Linked DNA regions of Homo sapiens: regions 1, 3, 4 and 5 are each linked to region 2. The links are contacts of gene promoters, found by promoter capture Hi-C in blood cells and fetal thymus (Javierre and others, 2016). All regions are on one chromosome and are shown on one strand. Each heading gives the region's core, a stretch centred on a gene start or on the middle of the fragment in contact. The rest is flanking DNA. Distances are from core to core; before and after follow the strand shown.

Region 1 (4,562 bases), core at 503-3,002, 280 kb after region 2:
TCAAATATAAATTCTGGAGTTAAAAATACAATAACTGAAGTAAAGATATACTATAAGTGTTCAGCAGCAAAGTTAAGTTGGCAGAAGGGAGAATCTGAATTTAAAGGTCAGTCAATTGAGATTCTTTTTTAAAAATTTTTATTTCTTTTCTAAATTAGAGATGGAGTCTTGCTATGTTGACCAGGCTGGTCTCCAACTCCTGGCCTCAAGCAAGCCTCCCATCTTGGCCTTCCAAAGTGCTGGGAGTACAGGCATGAGCCATGGCACCTGGTCGAGATTCTTGAGTTTGATAAAATCACACTGATAATTCCCAGGCAACCATGCCAAAATATATAGTAAAAAAAACAAGGGAATTAAAATGGTACATAGAAAATATTGATTTAACAGACCTCTTAAGGAGATACTATTTTTAAATTATTTTATAGATAAGGTAACAGACTTAGAGCAGTTCTACTGCTCAAGTACATAATAGAGTCAGACTCAGAAGCCCAGTCTGTCACCAAAATTCCTTACTATAGGCTTACAAGGGAGATAGATGAAATTCTCTGGTAGAACATAGAAATGGTTAAGCCCTATTATTTTAATAACCACCATTTACACATACCATACTCTTATGATTCTGTCAGATAAGGAATGGAAAGCTCAAGAACGGTCAGTGTCTTCCCAGAGTGATGGTTGCTAGTAAGTGGTAGAACTGGGATTTGAATGAAAGTATATAGGGTTCAAGGTTTTCTGTTGCCCATGATGTTTTGAGATGGCAACCTAAATATTATGTGGTTTTAGCCCACTCACAACTGGGTGAGCATAAGTAGTACAGCAGACCTTTTTCAGACATCTGACTTATCTTGCATGCTAGTAGTAATGCAAGAGGATAACACAAGCTTTATAGAAAAACAGCATTGAAATTTTCCTTTCCTGGTTTTGTAATTTACAGACATAAACTTCCTTATTTGTTTCCTCTTTCACAGAACATGAAGTAACCTGAAGTAACTCAGTGCTTTTAAATAAAACAACCACATAAAAAATTAGATGATATGTTTCTGATTTTACTTTATATCAACTGATAAATTCAACTACATATTAAGATATTTACAGTAATGTAAATACAGCCCAGTACTTGTTTTGATTTCTTGTAAAAAGCTACTTTCTCTTTGTAACCTGATTAGGCGTAGCTTGGGGTCTTCTGAAAAAGATAAACAAAAGCAAGGAGGCAGTCTGTTTTCTTCCAGTATCAGCAAAGAAAGACTGTAGAATTTCATGATTTAATTTTAAGACAACTCACATTTATCATCATCTTGATATTTATATCCTTGACTTTTACCAAAGTCTATTTTAGAAATGCCCGTTGCTCTCAGAAAAGAAGAGTTTGTTTTTCTAGGCTGCATTAAGGAAACTCAAGAGATTTCAGCAAAACTTTATTGCTGAAGAATCTGTGCCCCTCCTGGATCTAAATAAGGAGGGGACTGTTTAAAGTTCTTACTTTAGGGGAAATTACATCAAATGCTTAGGAAAATGACCCATTTTCCCTCCTAATTCATCATAATCTTCTTCTTCAAACAAGTTCTAGGACATTTACACTTTCCTGTAAGTAAATGTTCAGTGGAGCATTCCAGATTTCTAAGTTTCTGAATTTGTCCTTAGAATATTCCTTTTTTTTTCTTCACTATTTTGAGTATTTAACATTATGAGTTTGGGAGTTTAGGTTCCAAACTCAACTGATTTTAAGGATCAAGTAGATAAAATGAATAAAGAGGGCAGAGGTAATGTGTAAGGGAGTGTGTGGCCTAATAGCTACCTGGAAAGGACGTGGCTGCTTAAAGGCATTCAAATTCAATTGTTTAAAAATATTGTGGAGTCATTAAAACATATTGCTGGTCAAAGGTCCCATGGTTTCTCAGTTTCTCAATTACTACAGAATTATTCCCTTAGAAATTTGTGTCCAATAGTCAAAAAGTTTGGCTATTTTTTTAAGTATATTTGGATAAATTACCTACCAAGTTTTTGCATATTGGAGACCACCAAGGAGTTCATACTGCCAGATTAACTCACATTTATATAAACCTTGAAAGAATGCTTATCCTGCCATTTCTGAGCATTTATAAGTGAATTCTATCATTGATTAAGAAATTTATGGCCAAGCACAGCAGCTCATGCCTGTGATCCCAGCACTTTGGGAGGCCGAGGCAAGTGGATTACCTGAGGTCAGGAGTTTGAGATCAGCCTGGCCAACATAGTGAAACCTTGTCTCTACTTTAATAAATACAAAAATTACCCGGGTATGGTGGTATGCACCTGTAATCCCAGCTACTCGGGAGGCTGAGCCAGAAGAATCTCTTGAACCCAGGAGGTGGAGGTTGCAGTGAGCCGAGATAGTGCCGCTGCACACCAGCCTGGGCAACAGAGTAAGACTCCGTCTCAAAAAAAAAAAAAAAAAGGCATGGCTCTTCATAGAGGTCTCTTTGAATTGAAGTTTGTGCATGTCTGTTCACTTAAACAAGTGTAAAGAACATTCTTGTGTTTTGCTCATTTAAATGTAAAATGCTAGACAAGATACAGATGCATCTTCATCATACGTGCCCTTCTCAAACTGTTATGATACTTTTATGATTTGTTGTAAGCTTTAAATAGCTCTTTTTTTTTTTTTTTTTTTTTTTTCTGAGACAGTGTCTTACTCTGTTGCCCAGGCTGGAGTGTAGTGGCGCGATCATGGCTCACTGCAGCCTCAACCTCCCAGGCTCAGGCAGCCCTCCTACCTCAGCCTCCTGAATAGCTGGGACTACAGCCACATACCACCACACCTGGCTAATTTTTGTATTCTTTGTAGAGATGGAGTCTTGCTGTGTTGCCCAAGTTAGTCTTGAACTCCTGGGCTCAAGTGATACGCCCACCTAAGCCTCCAAAAGTGTTGAAATTGCAGGCATGAGCCACTGTACCCAGCACTAAATAGTTTTTACTTTACTTTAAATTTGTAAGAAATATATGCAGCTTTTGGATTGTATTTGCAATTCAGCTTTGACATAAAAATTGTCTACTTTAAGCTTTGAGATCTGTTTAATTGAAGAGAACCAGGAATAGTAAGGAAAGCAATTGAATTATTATTACTTGCAATTTATTGTCCATGTGAATCAACTTTTTTTCCTTACAATGCAACCAAAAGACACAATTTGGATATGGCTAATATAAGTTGGGTATCATTTATTACTCTTTAGTAAGAAGTCTTTTGATTGCAAATAACAATGACCCAACTCAAAGTAGCTTAGGCAAAACAGAGGAATTTGTTGGCTAAGGTAACCAAATCACAGAAAGGATGAGATGGTGCTTGCTCAAGAACTACCCAATTCAAGGACACTGTCCCTGTCCTCTGCCCACCATTCCCATCTTCACTTTGCCAAATTTCTCATCACTGCTTTTCTCTGTGAGTTGGTTTAATTCTTTCCTACTACAGATAGGCACTATCTGCTTGGTAGGAAGAATAACTTTGGTGGGAAGGATAGGCCATTTTTGGATTAATCTTTCAGCCTCTATCCCAGGGATGACCTAATTTAAGTCAAGGGACCACCTCCACCCAGTAATTAGGGGCAGAGGACAGTGGTTTGAGGTTCTGTCTTGCATATCTGCCTACCCTGCAAGTTTACCCCTGAGATCAGGACAGCAGGATCTGTTGCTAGAAGGAAGAAGAAGGCATGCAAGGTTATATATATTTTATGTCTTGGAATTCCACATAAAAGGATGCCACTACTGAAAATATTTGAAAATTACTGAATTAGAGTTTTATGAAATCAATTACTCCTTTAACTTGTATACGATTTTATAAATGTTATGTAACATCATTAGATTTCTCAGTCATGGGGCTCAAGTATAGGTTTATTCATTTTTTGTAATCATGCGAATTCTGATTGGTGTTATTATTTGTTGAACAGATATTTATTGAGCACTACCAGTATGCCAAACCCTATGCTCAACACAGAAGATGGAATGGTAAACAGACAGACCTGATGCCTCCCTTTATGGAACTTAAACAAAAAGAGGGACATACAAACAAATATCACCAGTATGAGGTTGTATGCTATGATCAGGAGTTATGAAGCAAAAAGACAATAGAGATATCCAAGTAGATGATTAAGTGAAGAGACTAAGGCTGATAAGAGTGAGCCAAACCATGGGAGAGAAAGCAGAGAGTAGTCAAGGCAGAAGAAAAGCCTGTGTGAAAGCTCAGAGGCAAAAAAGGAGTATTGGAGAAGCCAAAAACTGCATTGTAGAGAAGGTGTAATACGGAAGGAGAATGGGGAGTGAGTAATAAGTGAAGAAGCTGAAGAGGTATGCCAAGTTCAGATAATGTGGTCTGTAATGATTTTTTTAAAAGCCTTTTCCTAAATGTGATGAGTAGCCAGTGAACAGTGTAGAGCAGTCAAGTAAAATACACAATTTAGAAACATCCTCCTAGCTGCAGAGTGGAAATGAGTTGGTGAGAGGGAGAGTTGGATGCAGGGCAACAGAAGATTGCTGCAATAATCTGGATGAGACAGGATGGCCAGAGGGGAGTAGCTGTGGAGATCAGGAGG
Region 2 (4,669 bases), core at 583-3,082:
CCAGAGACAGGGGATGGGCGCCACTGCTGCTCTCTCAGTTCAGCTCAGCCCTGTGCAGGGTGCTGGCAACACAGAAATAATAAGACCCAGTTTCTGCCCTCCAGGAGCCCCTAGACCTGGGAAGAGGAAAGGAGGAGACAGACATAGATCATGACGGTTCAGGTGGGACCAGGGCTGTCAGCCCCAGGCCTGTAGGGGCCTAGAAGAGGCTCCAACCCAGCTGTAGGGATCAAGGAAGGCTTTCCAGAGGAGAGGACATCTGAGCTGGGTCCCAAGTCTGGGTAGTTCTCCAGTTGAGGAAGGTGAGAGTAGGAGGGCTTATCAGAGAGGGAGTGTAGAATATGCAACAGGCCAGGGGCAAGAAATGAGAGACTCCAGGCAGCTGCTGCAAGGTAAAGAGTCAGGCGGGAGAGGTGGCTGGAAAGGCTGGCAGGCCCCAGTTATCAAATACCTTAAGTCCCAGGCTACAGGGTTCAGGCTTGGTCCTGTGGAAGGCTTGTGCCCTAGGGAGGGGCACAGTTGGGATTCTGGTTCTGGGAGGCTCCTTCCAGGGACTGACTTCCCATCCCCAAGCTGTGAGCCTGCCCATGGGGGGACACTGGTGCTGAACATGACACACTCATCAGCTCCTCAACAGCCCTCAAATTCCTTATCATTAGTCCCTTCTTACAGACGAGGCCACTGAGGCTCAGAGAAAGGACGGCTTGCCCAGGCCACACAGTGGCCAAGACAGGATTGGAACATAGATCTCTGAGTCTCCAGAGCTCTCTTGTGGACCTGTCTGCTCAGAGAATCTTCTTCCTTCCACTTCCACCCACAGGTAATAAACTTGCCTGGGTCTCCACCCAGATCCTCAAAACTCATAATTATTTCAGCTTAGATCCAAAACAAACCAGGCAGATCAGGCTGTGGTCCTGGGAAGCTGGGGATGCCATGCTGAGAGGAACAGCAGCCATGGACCCCACAAATCCCGAGCTGGCAATTCTGGTCTCCAGCAGTCCCCAACCCTTGGGCTGCGCTCCTGGAGGACCCCAAGAGGGCCACTGGCAGCCTTCGGGTTGGGGGGTGGGGTATCGCCTTTCTCCTGACTGACCCTTTCTACCGCACCATTTGCCAGATTAAAAGCCCGGGGACAGAGGCTTAACTGTCCTTTCTGGCCACTCCCTCCTCCCCCGCCCACTCCCTGCAACTGCCCCCTCAACATTACCAATGGTAGGTGGCCACCCAGAGTGACCCTGGGGTTAGGACAGTGGTAGGGGGTCTCCAGGGGTTCGCGTCTCTGGGCACCGGCCACCGCCTCACGCCACGGGGACGCTCACATCGGAGCACACACAGACAAGTTCCGCAGGCTTGGCCAGTCGCCCCGAGGGGCGCACACACTCACCCGCTAACACGCAGACCTCCCCAGTACGCTGACGCGCACAGCCTCACTACTGGGGCGCCCGTCCACACTCACCGAGACCGACGCTCCCGTGGAGACAAAGTTCAACCACGGACCCACAGGCGCGTTCAAGCCGTCCAGTTATGCGCTACACGCCGGCTCGCAACTGTGCCCCGGGGCGACAGCCGCTCCACAGCGCCCTCCCCTGCCCCGCGCCCAGTCCGCACCTGCGCCAGTCTGGCCCGCCGCTTCCCCGGGCCTCTCCCAGCGCCTTGTTCCCTCCAGACGCCCCACCCCACCTCTCGCCACTGCGCTGCGCTTCTCCTCTCAGGGTGCCGTCGCCGCCGCTCCCGGGTGCCAGTGCCCGGGTCCCGCCGCAGCCGCAGAGACCCACGTGCCTGGGAGCCCGGCTACCCACCTCCCTGCGCTGTTCCCCAACCCCGAAGCCGGGCCAGGCAGGGGGCGGGGCGGACTTTTGACTGACCCTGGCACCGCCCTCAACCCGCCCGGGTAGACACCGCGCCACCCGCTCCGGGACGCCGCCCAGCGACAAGGCCGCGGGGTCAGCGTGTCTGTACCGGTGCTGCAACGGGAGGGTCGGGCGGCGACGCTCTCACTGCCGGGCCAGAAGGAGGCCTCCCGGCTCCCTCACGCTAGAAGGGAGCTGGTTACCAGAGGTTTTCAGAGACGCCAAAGTTTTGCCAGGTCAGCCCGGTGCCTGCGTGGCCCACTGCGGGACCTTTGCGCCCAGCCACCGCGCCACCCTACCCCTGTCCCGCCCCTGCCCCAGCCCGGCTGGCCAGGAAGGGACCTACTGGGAGATACCTGCTCGGAACCCCAGGCTAAGGACGTACCTCCCTTGCTTGAAAGTGGGGGAAGGGGGTGCCTCTCTCCATTACCGTGGTTAGGAAAGCAGGGTACTCAGGATCCCGCCTCTCCCGTGCTCCCCACTTTCCCTGCCTTAATCTTATCAGCAGCTCCCTGAACTCCCCACTCTGGCCCCTTATCTTGAGCTGCTTTACCTCTCTTCTCTGTCGTCAACCCCACTCTAATGGCCTTCCCTGGTCGGGCTACCGGCTGCATGTCTGACCCGTTCGGAGACTGTGAGCTCCCGAGGGCAGGAACCAGGTCTGCCTTCTTCCTGCTGCTGTCCTAGAGGTCCTGGGAGGTGCTCAATCCTTGAAGGTGTGAATGGATGAATGAATGAGCACCCCGCCTCTCTCTCATTTCTGGTCTAGGAATCAGGAGTGTAGGTTCCTGTCTGGCTTCAGCACTGACTCTGGGAGACCTTGACCCAGTTCCATTCCCTGGCAGGGTCTTCTTTCCTGTGAAATGGAGCCAATCGCTCCGCTGGCTGGACAAGTGCAGAGGAGGCCTCTTCCTGTAGCCAAGGAACTTGCCCCGGGCCTTCGGGGCCTTGGGCCCTCTTGGGCTCCATATCAGCTGACTGGGCCTGGCTGCCAGGAAGGGTGCTGGCTGCAGCCCCACCAGGAGCAGTAGCAGAGTGGACACACAGCCCATAGTGGCTGAGCCGCCTCTGCAGTCCTGCTGGGGCCTTTGCTTGGGAGACACAAAGGCCCCTTGTCTAGCCTCCTGCGCCTATTGTCTAAGCTGGGCCACGCACCTTCCAGGGACCTAAGTATCCTCATAGCCCGAGTTATAGGGCCTAGGCCTTCAGGTTCCAGTGTGGGGAAGACCCTTTGGGCACTGGAACTCCAGCCAACCCTCTCTTTCTCTCCCCTCTTCCAAAACTTCAAACCTTATACTGTCACTGCCATTTAGCCCAGGAGAAACAAGTTTCTTTGACGCCAAGTTGAGGACCCAGGCTCGACCTTAGCCTTCAGCGGGCAAATCTGGTTGGTGGCCTGCCCAGGGCTCTGCCCCTGCTCTGGCCCAATTCCCTTACTTTACAGCTGAGGAAACTGCATTCCTGAGACATACAGCGTTTCAGCTACCACACAGGTGACTTAGTGAGGCTTGAGGAGCAGAGGAAGGGGCCTAGTCCTTGAACCCCATAGCCTTGGGTTTAGATTCCAGTCTTACCTCACCTGTCCTATGACTCCTCTCTGAGCCTGAGTTTCCTCTTTTGCAAAAGGGAGTAATACTAATCTCTCACTTGCTGGCCTGTCTTAAATTTTTTGAGAAAGGGCCTCACTCTGTCACCCAGGCCGTAGTGCAGTGGCATGATCACAGCACACTACAGTCTCTATGTCCCAGGGCCAAGGGATCCTCCCATCTCAGCCTCCCAAGTAGCTGGGAATACAGGCACATGCCACCATGCCGGGCTAATTTGTAAATTTTTTGTAGAGATGGGATCTCCCTGTGTTGACCAGGCTGGTCTCAAACTGCTGAGTCCAAGCAGTCCTCCTGCCTCGGCCTCCCAAAGTGCTGGGATTCCAGGCATGAGCCCCTGCACCCTATCCTTAAATTCTTTTTTCATGGTTTTATTCATCATCCCAAGCTGTCTGGGCTCAAGGCGTTAGTATCCCATGCAATGAGGGCCTAGAAGTTTCGTCTCCTGACATCCTCCCCAGGCAGTCCCATCGCTGGGTTTCAGAGGCCATCAAGCCCAGCAGGCTTCAAATCCCCCAACAGAGTCCCCCTTACCTGGGGCTGCCTGGGGAACTCCCATCCCACTTCAACTTGAGCACCTTTGCCTTTGTATTTTTATTTATTTACATTTCCTGGTAAGAATTTGTTGCAAGCACATGAAAGATTTTGTGGCTGAAGTAATGTAAAACCATTGATCAAACCGGAAATTGAGACACAGCCAGCGTCACACAACAGGCCATCTGAAAGGCTGGAATAGCATCGAGGGAGTCTCCCTGGAACCAAGCAGCCAAGGCAGGCTAATGGTGAAGGCCCAGGCACAGTAATGGTCCCCTGGAGGTGGGTAATGGAACCATGGGGGCGGGAGGAGGGTTCCATTAGCAGTAGCAGATCAGGAGGGGAAGGGCAAAGTTCCAGCCTCAGCTTCTCCCATGTATTAGGAGGCTTCCTGTCTCTCCAGCCCTGAGGAGGTATTTGGCTCATTCAGGCCTTTTCATCCTCCTTCTCTCAACTTCTCTCATTGCCCCTGGGAAAACTTGCTCTGAAAATGCATGCTGGGGATGAAGCCTCTGCCCTGGCCCAGGCTCCAATCCCCCCTTCCCAGGGTACAGTGGTGTCTCTGTTGCCCCTTGATGCCATACCCTGCCTTACACTCTCTGGTGGCTCCACCATCCTCTGGATAAAGCCTAGCTCTCTAGCCTGCCACTCCAGCCTCCCTGCCTCTCTGCCTCACCTCTC
Region 3 (4,116 bases), core at 1,176-3,675, 320 kb after region 2:
AATTAGCAATTTTTTTAATGCCTCTACCCCTCTGCCATTTTTTTTATGGTAGCAGAATACACATAACACAAAAATTACCATTTTTAACCATAGTTAAAGTGTGAGATTGATTCACTGTCACTTACTACATTTCCAGTGCTGTGCACTGTCATAACTTGGTAGTTCCACAACATTTCATCACTTTAAAAAGAAATCCTGACCCCATTAAGCAGTCACTCTCCCTATACTCCTCACCTCAGCCCCTGACATCATTAATCTACTTTCTGTCTGTAGATTCCAACTGGCAATTTTTGTTTTTATTTTTACTTATTTATTATTATTATTATTATTTTATTTTTGAGACAGGGTCTCACTCTGTCACTGGGGCTGGAGGGCAGTAGCGTGATCTCAGCTCACTACAGCCCCCCTCTCCTGGGCTCAAGTGATCCTCCCACATCAGCCTCCCGATTAGCTGGGGCCACAGGCACGCACCACTGTGCCTGGCTATTTTCTTTGTATTTTCAATAGAGATGGGGGGGTCTCACCATGTTGCCCAGGCTGGTCTCGAACTCCTGAGTTCAAGCCACCTACCCACTTTAGTCTCCCAAAGTGCTGGCATTACGGACGTGAGCCACGATGTCCGGCCCCAATTGGCAATTGTTTAAAAGCATACAGTAATCGTCCTTGAGTTTATGGGAAATGTTTGCCATTATTTAAATTTTTAAAAAAGAACAAAAATGCTAATTTGGTAACATAAAAATTGAAATTTAACTTCTGCAAAATGAGAAGGCACGCATTGGCATTATTAGTACATTCTGTCAATGTAGGCAAGCCAAAAGGAAAATCAAATTATATTCATAAAGTATTTTGATAAATTTAGAACCAGAACCAAGGGAGTTTATGATATAGTTCCAGAGTTTAATGGTATCAGTTTAATAGAAACACATTTGCCAGCGATATCTTCATTACTTTTCTTATACTTTAAGTAGCTCTGTTAGCAGCTATATAAAGAAATGTAGGAAATCAGCATTTCCCTCTATATTACAACCTTTGCCCTTTATAGTAGTGCTTTTTTTTTTTAATCAAATCAGCTTTTGCCAATGACTTATTCACATTCTCCTGTGATTTGACTTCTTTGAAGCCTGGGAGGGATGAAGCAGAGCATTAGAAGATACAGGGTATAGACAAGTGTGTCAAGCTTGTCTTAAAATTATGACTAATTTGATGTTATTTTATCATTGCTATTTTCCACAGAAAAAATCAGAATAACAGTGACTCTCATCTCACTTTTTCCCAGCCCAACTGCAGCCCTAAATCTTTTGTTTCTAAACACTGTGCTAAATGTTCTTAGGTGTTGTGTCCTTGTTTGCCTTAAATTTCTAACTCTATGCTATGTTTTTTGTCCTTGTGCAATCTTTACTGGGCAGAGTTTAAAAGCCGCCCAACTGGTGGATATTGAGCTCTCCCCTGTCAGTGCTCTGAGAATGACCATAGCTGAGGTATATGGGGTGTGGGTCAAGGGCGGGAGGGATGGGAAGTGTGGGTTTGCATGTTAATGAAGGGTGGGACCTGGTGTTGGGATGAAAGTTATGTATATACATGTATAAGAGGCCCTGATGCACCAGCTGTGTTTTCTCTTATAAATTAAGAATTTCCTTCCCTGTTTATAGTGAAGAAATTGAGCTACTCATTTTTCATCTTGTGTGAAGCACCTTAATCTTCTTCAACAGGTGTGCTGGAGAGAACCTTAGAGCTAATCTTGTCTTTATTAAAGGGGAAACTGTAGCCTAGTAAGGGAGACTTGTCCAGAGTCATACGGTAAATTAATGACATGTTACTGTTGTGATTGCAATAGTAATGTTATGTCTGCTGTGCTATTCTGTCTTCTAAGAAGAAATGTTCAGGACTTGGGAAGCAATTAGTTTTTTCATAATGGAAAAAGATAAATGCCTATGATTTTAAAAAATCATTCCAGACCTTCAATCATTTAAAAAGTCTTTTTTTTTTTTTTTTTTTTTTTAAGATAGGGTCTTACTCTGTCACCCAGACTGAAGTGCAATGGCATAATCACGGCTCACTGCGCCTCAACCTCCTGGGCTCGAGCAGTCCTTCCACCTCAGCTTCCCGAGTAACTGGGACTACAGCTGATTTTTATTTTATTTTGTTTTATTTTATTTTTATTTTTGGTAGAGAGGGGATGTCACCATGTTGCTTAGGCTGGCCTTGAACTCCTGGGCTCAAAAGATCCTCCTGCCTCAGCCAGACATGTATTATTGTCTGGCTCTGATTATAATCATCCTAGTGGATATGAAATAGTATCTCGTGGTTCTGGTTTGCATTTCCCTAATGACTAATGATGTTGAGTATCTTCATGAGTGTATTAGCCACTCATATATCTTCTTTGGTAAAATGTCTATTCAAACCTTGTTTCTATTTTTTTATTGGATTGTGTCTACTTGTTATGAATTAGATCTTGAAGATGAGTTGCAGTTTACTCTGCAAAGAGGGAGAAGCAACATGCCAGGAAGCAAAAACAAAAATTGAAAAGAATAAAAATAATAGGTGACATTCATTGAACATTTATTTCGTGCTAGACATTTTTCTAATGGCATTACCTATATTAATTTATTTTATCTTCACAACAACCCTATATTGTAGGTGCTATTTTTAATCCTTCTTTTACAGTTGAGGAAACTAAAGTTAAGAAATCTGGCTGGGTGCAGAGGCTTACGCCTGTAATCCCAACACTTTGGAAGGCCAAGGTGGGTGCATTGCTTGAGCCCAGGAGTTCGAGACCAGCCTGGGCAACACGGCGAAACCCTTTCTCTAAAAAAAAAATAATAATAATAATACAGAAAACTAGCTGGGCATGGTAGCACACACCTGTAGTCCCTGCTACTCAGGAAGCTGAAGTGGGAGGATCACTTGAGCCCGGGAGGTGGAGGTTGCAATGAGCCGTGATCACACCACTGCATTCCATCCTGGGTGACAGAGCAAGACCCTGTCTTTAAAAAAAAAAAAAAAAAATAGAAAGAAAAGCAATTTGCTTTGCTCAAGGTCACTCAGCTAATAAGCATTAGAGCCAGAAAAGTTTGAAAGTACATGACTATACCTGAAATAGCAAGTAGACTTGATGATGAAAGTGGGATGCAACCAGGTGTTATTTTTGAGTTTTATATATGATGGTAAATGGAGAACTATATACTCAGGTAAGATAGTAATAGGATGAGATCCATTGCAGGGGCAGGACAGTATTGTTCTTTTATTTTGAATTTTATAGTTTGAATTAGGAATTTTGAACTGCTTATGGGTTTAACAAATTTATTTTTCATTTACTAAGCAGACACTTACATATACTTTGCATATGCCCTTGCCTTACAGGCAAGAGAATTCAGCAAATATTTTATCTAAATTTACGTAAGATATAGTTAGGAAAGTTATAGGACTTTTAAAGTTACCACTGTGATAAAATGTAACTCTTCTGATGATTTTCATAAACTGTCTTAAAATTTTTTTAACTTTTTAATATAACCCATTTCAAACTACACTGTTTTCCCTACAAAAGTCCAAGACACCCAATTGAATATGTATAGTCACAGTATTATTATAGTAATTTAATTAGGGCTTTTTTGGGTAGAATTTTAATATTAACCAAAAGATGACTACAAGTGACAGTGACCAATGGCAAGCTTTGTTCTTATGTAGTAACTTAATAGCTGTCTCATGGTTAATACTGAAGGATTTTCTTATCTATATTTCCATAAGAGAGTTACTGATTTCTAAAGTGTTCTTTCTTTATATCTTCAATTATCATTTCTCAGATGATACCAGAAAGCCAGAGCTCTTTCTAGAAAAAGTAAAATACATCTTTTTTGCTGAAATGACTTTTTAATGCAGAATTTTTCTGAGGAGGATATGGAATGTGCCTTTAAATCTTCCTGTCTATAATAAGAATATTCTGTGAGAGAGAACTGACAAACACATTTATTAGGATCTCAATGTTAGAGTCATTCAGCTGACACATGGATCACACTGGGGTTAGTGATTCATACAGGTGGTGTACAATGGAGAAAACATGGGTTTGGGTGTCTAAACTAGCAGTTTATTTACATATATTTAACTTTTGTGATTCAGCTT
Region 4 (4,155 bases), core at 523-3,022, 300 kb after region 2:
TTTTACACACACTTAACAATTTCTTAAGACTTTTAGCATGGGATATATCTTGAATCCCATGAGGTCGCCATTACCATGTTCATTTTATATGGAGGAAATTGGACTCAGAAGTTTATGTGGCTTGGCCTGAGGTTACACACTCACACATAGTGCTTTCCATGATCTTCTACTATATTCTCTTTAGCTTGTATTATTTTAATAGAAAATGAATTAAGAATTTATGAACTAGTTTGGACACATAAAGAGATAAGCTTTCATTTTCTGCATTCACTCATATGAGTATCTCACTCCCCAGAAATGAGGAATAAATGAGATGCTCTTACATTTAAATTGAAAGTGGTAGGAATAAAAATTTAATAAGAATAATGTAGTGCCCTTTTGTTCCAAGTACCAGAAGAGGCCTACAAGTTTTATGCCATGTGTTTTTCTGTTATGAAGAGCTTGTTATGCTGCTCTTGCTATGCTGCTGAAAGCAACCTAAAGGGAAGTTTGACACTTTTTAGATTTTTTTTATTTTATATTATTATTACCATGTTCAAAATGTGACATATCCCCAAAGATATTTTGGTGGTAATTCATCCAACATACTGTAAATGTTAAAGTGCTTCCTATATCATTCATCCCCTAAATGGAAACAGATGGCCCTAGGAGCTTTTGTTAAACTTTAATTATTTATGAAGCTTGCTTTTCTTCTTAATATTTTATGAAATGCTTTGTATATGTAACTGAAGCAGATGTTGTCATAGGTATTTTCTCTAGGATAGTAACTCTGAAGGTAGCTCTACTGGCCTTTATAATTTGTTTGTGTGTGCTTGCTTTTTGTCTCCATAAGGAAATGCCTTCCAATTAATAACAAAGTTCATTTAAGAATTCAGAAAAATAAATTTAAAAAAAGAATTCAGAAAATAACAATGTTATTCTACATTTATTTGAAAATTAATTTGTCTAGTGTTACTGTTCTTAATACTTCGAAGTCTAACCAAAAAAAGTAGATAAAAGGAAGGAAAAAACTTCATGATCATTTCAATAGACACAGAAAAAGATTTGACAAAATTCAGTACTTTTTTGTGATAAACACTCAGCAAACTAGAATAGAAGGGAACTTACATAACATGATAGCATCAACCAATGTCATATTCAATAATGAAAGACTGAAATCTTCCTCTGCTAACATCAGGAACAAAACAAGGATACCCATTTTCACCACCGCTATTAACCATTGTACTGGAAGTCCTAGACAGGGCAATTCGGTAAGAAAAAGAAATAAAAGGCAGCCAAATTGAAAAAGAAGAATTAAAATTACCTCTCTTTGCAGATGACATGATTATATTTATAAACTCTCAGAGAGCCCATTAAAAAAACTAATAGAGCTAATAAATTTAGCAACATATAAGATAAAAACACAAAAATCAGTTGCATCTCTATATTCCATCAATGAATGATCCAAAAAGAAGGTTAAGAAAATAATTCCAACTACAATAATACTCAGAGAATAAACTATCTAGGAATAAACTTAACCAAAGGAGTTAAAGGCCTGTACACTGAAAACTATAAAACATTGCTGAAAGAAATAAAAGATATAAATAAATGCATATAATAAATGTTCATGGATTGGGAGATTTCATGTTGCTAATATTGTAATATTCCCCAAAGTGATCTACAGATTCAATGTAGTCCCTATCAAAATTCCAATGGCCTTTTTTGCAGAAATGGAAAAGCCGGTCCTCAATTTTTTTTTTTTTTTAATTTGAGACAAGGTCTCACTCTGTCACCCAGGCTAGAGTGCAATGGCATGAGCTCAGCTCACTGCAACCTCCACCTCCCAGGTTCAAGCGATTCTCCTGCCTCAGCATCCCAAGTAGCTAGAATTACAGGCATATGCCACCACGCCTGGCTAATTTGTTTGTATTTTTAGTCAAGACGGGGTTTCGTCATGTTAGCCAGGCTAGTCTTGAACTCCTGACGTCAAGTGATCCGCCTGCCTTGGCCTCCCAAAGTGCTGGGATTACAGGCGTCAGCCACTGCACTCGGCCCAGTCTTCGAATTAATATGGAACTACAAGGGACCATGAATAGTTTAAACAATATTGAAAAGGAAAAATAAAGTTGGAGGACTCACACTTCCCAATTTCATAACTTACTATAAAGTTACAGTAGTAAAGATAGCGTGGTATGGACATAAGTATAGACATATAGACCAATGAAACAGAATTGAGAGTTCAGAAATAAACCTGAACATCTATGGTCAATTGATTTGCAACAAAGGTGCCATGACTATTCAATAGAGAAAGAATATTCTCTTCAGAAAAAGGTTTTGGGACAGCTGGATAGCCACATGCAAAAGAATGAAGTTCAAGCCAGGTGTGATGGCTCACGCCTGTAATCCCAACACTTTGAGAGGCCGAGATGGGTGGATCATGAGATCAGGAGTTCAAGACCAGCCTGGCCAATATGGTGAAACCTCATCTCTACTAAAAATACAAAAATTGGCTGGGCGTGGTGGTGGGTGCCTGTAGTCCCAGCTGCTTGGGAGGCTGAGGCAGGAGAATCGCTTGAACCCGAAAGGTGGAGGTTGCAGTGAGCTGAGATCGTACCACTGCACTCCAGCCTGGGCGACAGAGCAACACTCTGCTTCAAAAAAAAAAAAAAAAAAAAAAAAAAAAAAAAAAGAATGAAGTTCAATGAAGTTGTGAACCCTTACCTCACAAAATTAACTCAAAATTGATCAATGACCTAACTTATAAGAGAAAACAGAGATAGATCTTTATGACCTTGATTTGGCAGTGCATTCTCAGATTTGACGTTGAAAGCACAAGTAACGAAAGAAAACATAGATAATTAGACTGTATCAAATTAAAAGCTTTTGTGCATCAAAGGACATTATTAAGAATGTGAAATCAACCCAAATGATGAGAGAAAATATTTGCACATCACATATCTGATAAAAGTTTCATATTCAGAATATACAAAGAACTCTTACAACTCAACATCAGAGACAACCCAATATAAAAGTGAACAAAGGAGGCTGGGCACAGTGGCTCACGCTTGTAATCCCAATACTTTGGAAGGCCAAGGTGGGGGAATTGCTTGAGCTGAGGAGTTCAAGAGCAGCCTAGGCAACATAGCAAGACCCTATCTCTACAAAAAAATTTTTTAAATTAGCCAGACATGGTGCTGCATACCTGTTGTCCCAACTACTCGGGAGGCCCAAGTGGGAGGATTACTTGAGCCCAGGAATTGGAAGCTGCAGCAGGCTATGATCATGCTACTACTGTACTGTAGCCTGGGTGACAGAGCAAGACCCTGTCTCTTTAAAAAAAAAAAAAAAAAAAAAAAAGTTGTGTACCAAAAGGTCAATGAAATTAAAAGCTAGTTTTTTGAAAAGATTAACAAAATTGATAAACCTTTTTTTCCCTTTAATTTTAATTTCAGGGGTACATGTGCAGGATGTGCAGATTATGTAGGTAAACTTGTGTCATGGAGGGTTTGGTACACATTATTTTATCACCCACGTATTAAGCCTAGTACCCATTAGTTATTTTTCCTGATTCTCTCCCTCCTCCCACCCTCCACCCTCTACCCTCTGGTAGGCCCTAGTGTGCGTTGTTCCCATGTGTTCTCATAATTTAGCTCCCACTTACAAATGAGAACATGTGGTATTTGCTTTTCTGTTCCTACATTAGTTTGCTAAGGATAGTGGCCTCCAGCTCCATTCATGTTCCTGCAAAGGACACGATCTCATTCTTTTTTATGGCTGCATAGTGTTCTGTGGTGTATATGTACCACATTTTCTTTTCTTTTCTTTTTGTTTTTTGTTTTTGAGGCAGAGTCTTGCTCTGTCACCCAGGCTGGAGAGCAATGGCGTGATCTCGGCTCACTGCAACCTCTGCCTCCCAGGTTCAAGCGATTCTCCTGCCTCAGCCTCCCGAGTAGCTGGGATTATAGGCGCCCACCACCGCGCCCGGCTAATTTTTGTATTTTTGTAGAGCTGGGGTTTTGCCTTGTTGGCCAGGCTGGTTTTGAACTCCTGACCTCAGGTGATCCACCCACCTTGGCCAAAGTGCTGGGGTTACAGGCATGAGCCACCACGCCCGACCATGTACCACATTTTCTATATCCAGTCTATCATTGGTGGGCATTTAGGTTTGTTCCATGT
Region 5 (4,717 bases), core at 1,968-4,467, 350 kb after region 2:
TGGCAAATGCCCCACTAGCCAAAGCAAATCACATGGACAAGCCCAGAATCATGGTGGGAGTGGACTACATGGATACCAGGAAGCATGATTATTTGGGAACCTTTAATATAATGGTTTACCACAGTTGGTGTGACCTTGATTAAATCATTTTTCTCATCTATAAAATGGAGTTTTGGGGCTAGGGATGGTGGCTGACACCTCTAATTCCAGCATTTTGGGAGGCCAGGGCAGGAGGGCGGAAGGATCGTTTGAGGCCAGGAGTTTGATACCAACCAGGCAGCATAGCAAGACCCCATCTCTACAAAAAACTTTAACATTAGATGTGGTGGCATATGCTTCTGGTCCCAACTGCTCAGGAGAAATCCAAGGTTACAGTGAGCTATTATTGCACCACTGCACTCTAGCCTGGGCAGCAGAGCGAGACTCTGTCAAATAAATAATAGCTAGCTAGATAGATAGATAGAGTTTATAATATTGACCCCTAGAATTGTTTTGTGAATTAAATGAAATATATGATGATATAGTTCCTAGTACCTATGATAAAAGCTGTTTGGAGCTTTTTTTTAAGGTACCAAAGATGGAGTAGCAAATACTATTATCTACCATTATTGATTCTATTCTACAAGTAAACCACTGTCCTAAATAGTAATACATTACACACAGTCCTTGTCCTTAGAGAAGAGATATGTTAAAGGCAAATGAATTAGTCCAAATTAGATTTACAGACTTGAAATTCAACTATAGCTTTACACTTATATGTGTTTATGTTAAATGTTGTGTTAAAATCTAGGTAATTGACTGTGTTTATAAACCAAGATTATGTATCCTAAAAGATCTGGATTTTTAAAATACTATTTTTAAAAGCTCTGTCTCTTTAAAGCTTCCAAAAATGATTTGGTCAAGTAGTATCTGGAATGCCATCAAGTTTACAGAGAGCTATACTCTGAAAATTTTTAATAAGTTGGCAAATCATGAAAATTCATTTGAAAACACTAGAAAGTTCTGCTTTTAGACAATTTTTAACTTATAAGCAACTGAAATCCTAAAGGGAAGATAGCAGTGTTTAATTCTGGGACTGCAGTCTAAATCTGAGTTGGCAAATACCATGTTTATCTGTTGTTTGATAAAATACTGACAAAATCTTATAAAAACTGGATTACTTGAATAACTGCTTTGAGAAAATAGAATGTAGTGAATACTTCTCTCTTTTCTGCTTCAGCAATTAAATGACTTGCATATGTGATTTCTAAGAAAGAGCTTGTTGGTTCACTCTTTTAAAAAACAAAAATAAAAACATTTCATTGTTTTAAAATGAATACTAGAGGTCAGGCACAGTGGCTCGCACCTGTAATCCCAGCATTTTGGGAGGCTGAGGCAGGAGGATCACTTGAAGCCAGAAGTTCAAGACCAGCCTAGGCAACATAGTGAGACAGCTGTCTCTACAAAAAATTTTAAAAAATTAGCCAGGCATGGTGGCATGCACCTGTAGTCCTAGCTACTGGGAAGGCTACAGTAGGAGGATCACTTGAGCCCAGCAGTTCGAGGCTGCAGTGAGCTATTGTCATACCACCGCATTCCAGCTTGGGCAACAGTGAGACCCTGTCTCTTAAAAAAGCAAAAGCATACTACAATGGTGCTAGGGCAAGTGGATATCCATATGCAAAAGAATGAAGTTTGACCCTGTTAAAAGATAAACTTAGGCACATTAAATTTTTTTTTATTTGAGAAAATAGTGATAATTACTTGGGCAGCACCAGATCATATGCAGTTCAGGGTTCCACCAATGGAACACCAGAGGAATGCTTTTATAGGGTGAACTCAGAAGCAAAACAAAGCAAATATTTGATTGGTTAAAGTGGCACGGTAGTATCCTTTTTTGGATCATTCCAGTGGAAGGTTTCTAGTTAGAAGGTAGTTGGCAGTTTTTGATTGGTTAAGCTTCAGTTTTGTTTTACCATTTATACTGAGTTGAGTTTTGGTTTGCTTACGTAGGAACCCGGGATGCTGGAGCTGCCTCAGTTTAATGACCTTCCAGTTAATTATCTTAACAACCCCACTTTACATCATATATACAAACTAACTCAAAATGAATACCTAAATGTAACAGCGAAAGCTAATAAACTTACAAAAAAAACCACAGGGGTAAGTCTTTGTGGCCTTGGATTAGTTTCTTAGATATAACACCAAAGCCTAAGCAGCAAAAGAAAAACTAGATAAATTAGACATCATCAAAATTTAAAACTTTCATGTTTCAAATGACACTATCAAGAAAATGAAAGACAGCCCACAGAATGGGGGAAAATATTTGCAAATCATGTATCTGATAGAAACTTACTTCTAGAATATATTAAAACTCATAATAATAAAAAGGCAAAAATACTCAACTTAAAAATGGGAAAAGGGTCTGAATAGACATTTCTCCAAAGAAGATGTATGAATGACCCATAAATAAGCACATGAAAAGATTCATTTTTTTTTTTTTTTGAAACAGAGTCTCACACCATTGCCTGGGCTGGAGTGCAGTGGCGCGATCTCGGTTCACTGCAGCCTCCACCTCCCAGGTTCAAGCGATTCTCCTGCCTCAGCCTCCTGAGTAGCTGGGATTACAGGCACCCGCCACCGTGTCCGGCTAATTTTTTGTATTTTTAGTAGAGATGGGGTTTCACTGTGTTGGCCAGGCTGGTCTCAAACTCCTGACCTGGTGATCTGCCCGCCTCAGCCTCCCGAAGTGCTGGGATTATAGGCATGAGCCACCGTGCCTGGCCTAAGATTTGTAACATTAATAGTTATCCAGGAAAATGCAAACAACAGTAAGATACCACTTTATATCCACTAGCATGGCTAGAGTCAAAAGACAGACATTAACAAGCATTTGCCAGGATGTGGAGAAACCCTCATCACCCTACTGGTGGGATCAAATGATAAAGCCACGTTGAAAAACAGTCTAGTATTTCCCCAGATGGTTAAACTTAGCATTACTTCATGATCCAGCAATGCCAGCCCTACATATAAACCCAAAAGAAGTGAAAACATGTCCACACTAAAATTTATACACACACGTTTATAGCAATATTATTCATAATAGCCAAGAAATAGAAACAACCTAAATGACTCCCAACTGACAAATGGATAAACATTCTAATGTATATCCATACAATAGAATGTTATTTGGCCATTAAAAAAATGAAATACTGATACATGTTACAACATAGATGAATCTTGAAAATATTATGCAAAGTGAGAGAAGTTAGTCATAAAAGACCATGTATTATATTGTTTCATATGTGTTAAATGTCTGGAATAGGCAAATCTTTATAGACAGAAAGTAGAATAGTGATTGTCAAGACTGCAGGGAATAGGGGGCTGGAGAACAATAGGTAAATGGTACATGGTTTCTTTTGGAGGTGATAAAATATTCTAAATTTGACTGTGGTGATGGTTGCATGTACTATGAATATACTGTAAGCCACTGAATTTCAGACTTGAAATGAGTGAATTGTGTGGTTCTAAAAAAAAAAAAAAAAAAGAAAAGAAAAAAAAAGTTGTGTGCCAAAAGGTCTTTGTCACCTGAGCTATATGTCAATAAAGTTTTACCAAAAAAAGAAATTATGAAAAGAATAAGCAGATTTTTGCAAGAGTATTTACCAATTGGAGTGCCTCTAAGCCAAAAATTCCAATTGTCTTATATAAAGACGTATATGATACCCCAAACCATTGTATTGTATACTTTAAAATGGTGCAGATAGTAAATTTTATGTAATGTTTTACCTCAATTTTTATAAAAATCTATTTGCTTAAAAACGTTAATATAAAAAAAATTAATTCAGCAAAGAAAGCCCAGTGATACAAGTCAGAACATAAATTGTTTTTGATATCAACTCCCCAAGCAGAGAATTCGGAGGGAAATCAAAATTATGTACCTGTTGGGCACAGCAGTTCACACCTGTAATCCCAACACTTTTGCAGGCCAAGATAGGAGGATTGCTTGAGCTCAGGAGTTCAAGAGCAGCCTGGGCAAAAGAGCAACCACTCTGGCTCTAAAAAAAAAAAAAAAAAAAATTATGTACCAAAGGTATTTGTCACTGGAGTGCAGTGGCTATCTATTCACAGGCATGATCATAGCTCACTGCAGCCTCAAACTCCTGGACTCAAGTGAGCCTGCCTCCTCAGTCTCCTGAGTAGCTTGGACTCCAGGTACAAGCCACTGCACCAGCTCCAACTTGTTTGTCCAAGAGTCCCACAGAAAGCCACCAAGTGAGAGTGGAACTTTACTTAGGTTAAGTAAGTGGAACCTTACTTAACCTAAAATTAGCTTAGTGGAACCTTAAATGTTAAGGAAGAGATCACCACTTGCATATGTGAAACAATGAAGCTGAATGCATTACTTGCTAAGCAAAAGAGGCTGAATGTTTTACTTGCTAAGCAAAAGAGAATGACACAAAACACATTGACTCTGAACAAAGCAAGAGTTGATATATAGGGTTTTGAGAAGCTTGAATGTCAGGGATTGGCAGATTTTCAAAACTAGGAATGTTTAAGGGGTTGGCTCACTTTCAGCCTTGGTTTTTAGAGTTTGGAGGACTAGTAGAAGCAGAAGCTGTCACAGATTAGCTGACTTTCAGAGGCATGGCTGTTGGAGCAAAGCAGCAGTTACTTTCTGATCGGGAGGGGTTTAAAACTAGTTCTGTGGTTACTTGTTTATGGTTTATGGAACAAG

Evidence for each region. Contacts are between HindIII fragments. The CHiCAGO score rates a contact against its expected background, and 5 or more counts as called.
Region 1: a contact is called between a fragment that was not itself captured here and the fragment with the promoter of P2RY2 in region 2, in 1 of 17 cell types (monocytes). The highest score is 5.8, in monocytes.
Region 3: a contact is called between a fragment that was not itself captured here and the fragment with the promoter of P2RY2 in region 2, in 1 of 17 cell types (total B cells). The highest score is 5.3, in total B cells.
Region 4: a contact is called between a fragment that was not itself captured here and the fragment with the promoter of P2RY2 in region 2, in 1 of 17 cell types (M0 macrophages). The highest score is 5.1, in M0 macrophages.
Region 5: a fragment that was not itself captured here is called in contact with the fragment with the promoter of P2RY2 in region 2 in 1 of 17 cell types (naive B cells); the score reaches 5.3 in naive B cells.

Annotation. Positions count from the first base shown.
Region 1 is chr11:72,932,204-72,936,765 of GRCh38, reverse strand. The region is part of intron 8 of FCHSD2 (FCH and double SH3 domains 2); the gene reads left to right. Among named protein-coding and RNA genes, the nearest start is that of ATG16L2, 120 kb to the right of the region's middle. The HindIII fragment of the contact is 1,737 bases long and covers 884-2,620 here.
Region 2 is chr11:73,215,444-73,220,112 of GRCh38, reverse strand. P2RY2 (purinergic receptor P2Y2) reads right to left here and starts at 1,832. Exons shown (of 3, transcript NM_002564.4): 1 at 1,681-1,832. LOC124902709 (a long non-coding RNA gene) reads left to right here and starts at 1,920. Exons shown (of 3, transcript XR_007062773.1): 1 at 1,920-2,086; 2 at 4,074-4,270. RefSeq lists enhancers at 561-1,279, 1,280-1,998 and a silencer at 1,712-1,921. The HindIII fragment of the contact is 6,402 bases long and covers 1-4,669 here.
Region 3 is chr11:72,897,619-72,901,734 of GRCh38, reverse strand. All of the region lies in intron 10 of FCHSD2 (FCH and double SH3 domains 2), which reads left to right. Among named protein-coding and RNA genes, the nearest start is that of ATG16L2, 85 kb to the right of the region's middle. The HindIII fragment of the contact is 2,491 bases long and covers 1,180-3,670 here.
Region 4 is chr11:72,915,482-72,919,636 of GRCh38, reverse strand. All of the region lies in intron 9 of FCHSD2 (FCH and double SH3 domains 2), which reads left to right. Among named protein-coding and RNA genes, the nearest start is that of ATG16L2, 100 kb to the right of the region's middle. The HindIII fragment of the contact is 2,179 bases long and covers 683-2,861 here.
Region 5 is chr11:72,871,096-72,875,812 of GRCh38, reverse strand. The region is part of intron 12 of FCHSD2 (FCH and double SH3 domains 2); the gene reads left to right. Among named protein-coding and RNA genes, the nearest start is that of ATG16L2, 59 kb to the right of the region's middle. The HindIII fragment of the contact is 2,554 bases long and covers 1,941-4,494 here.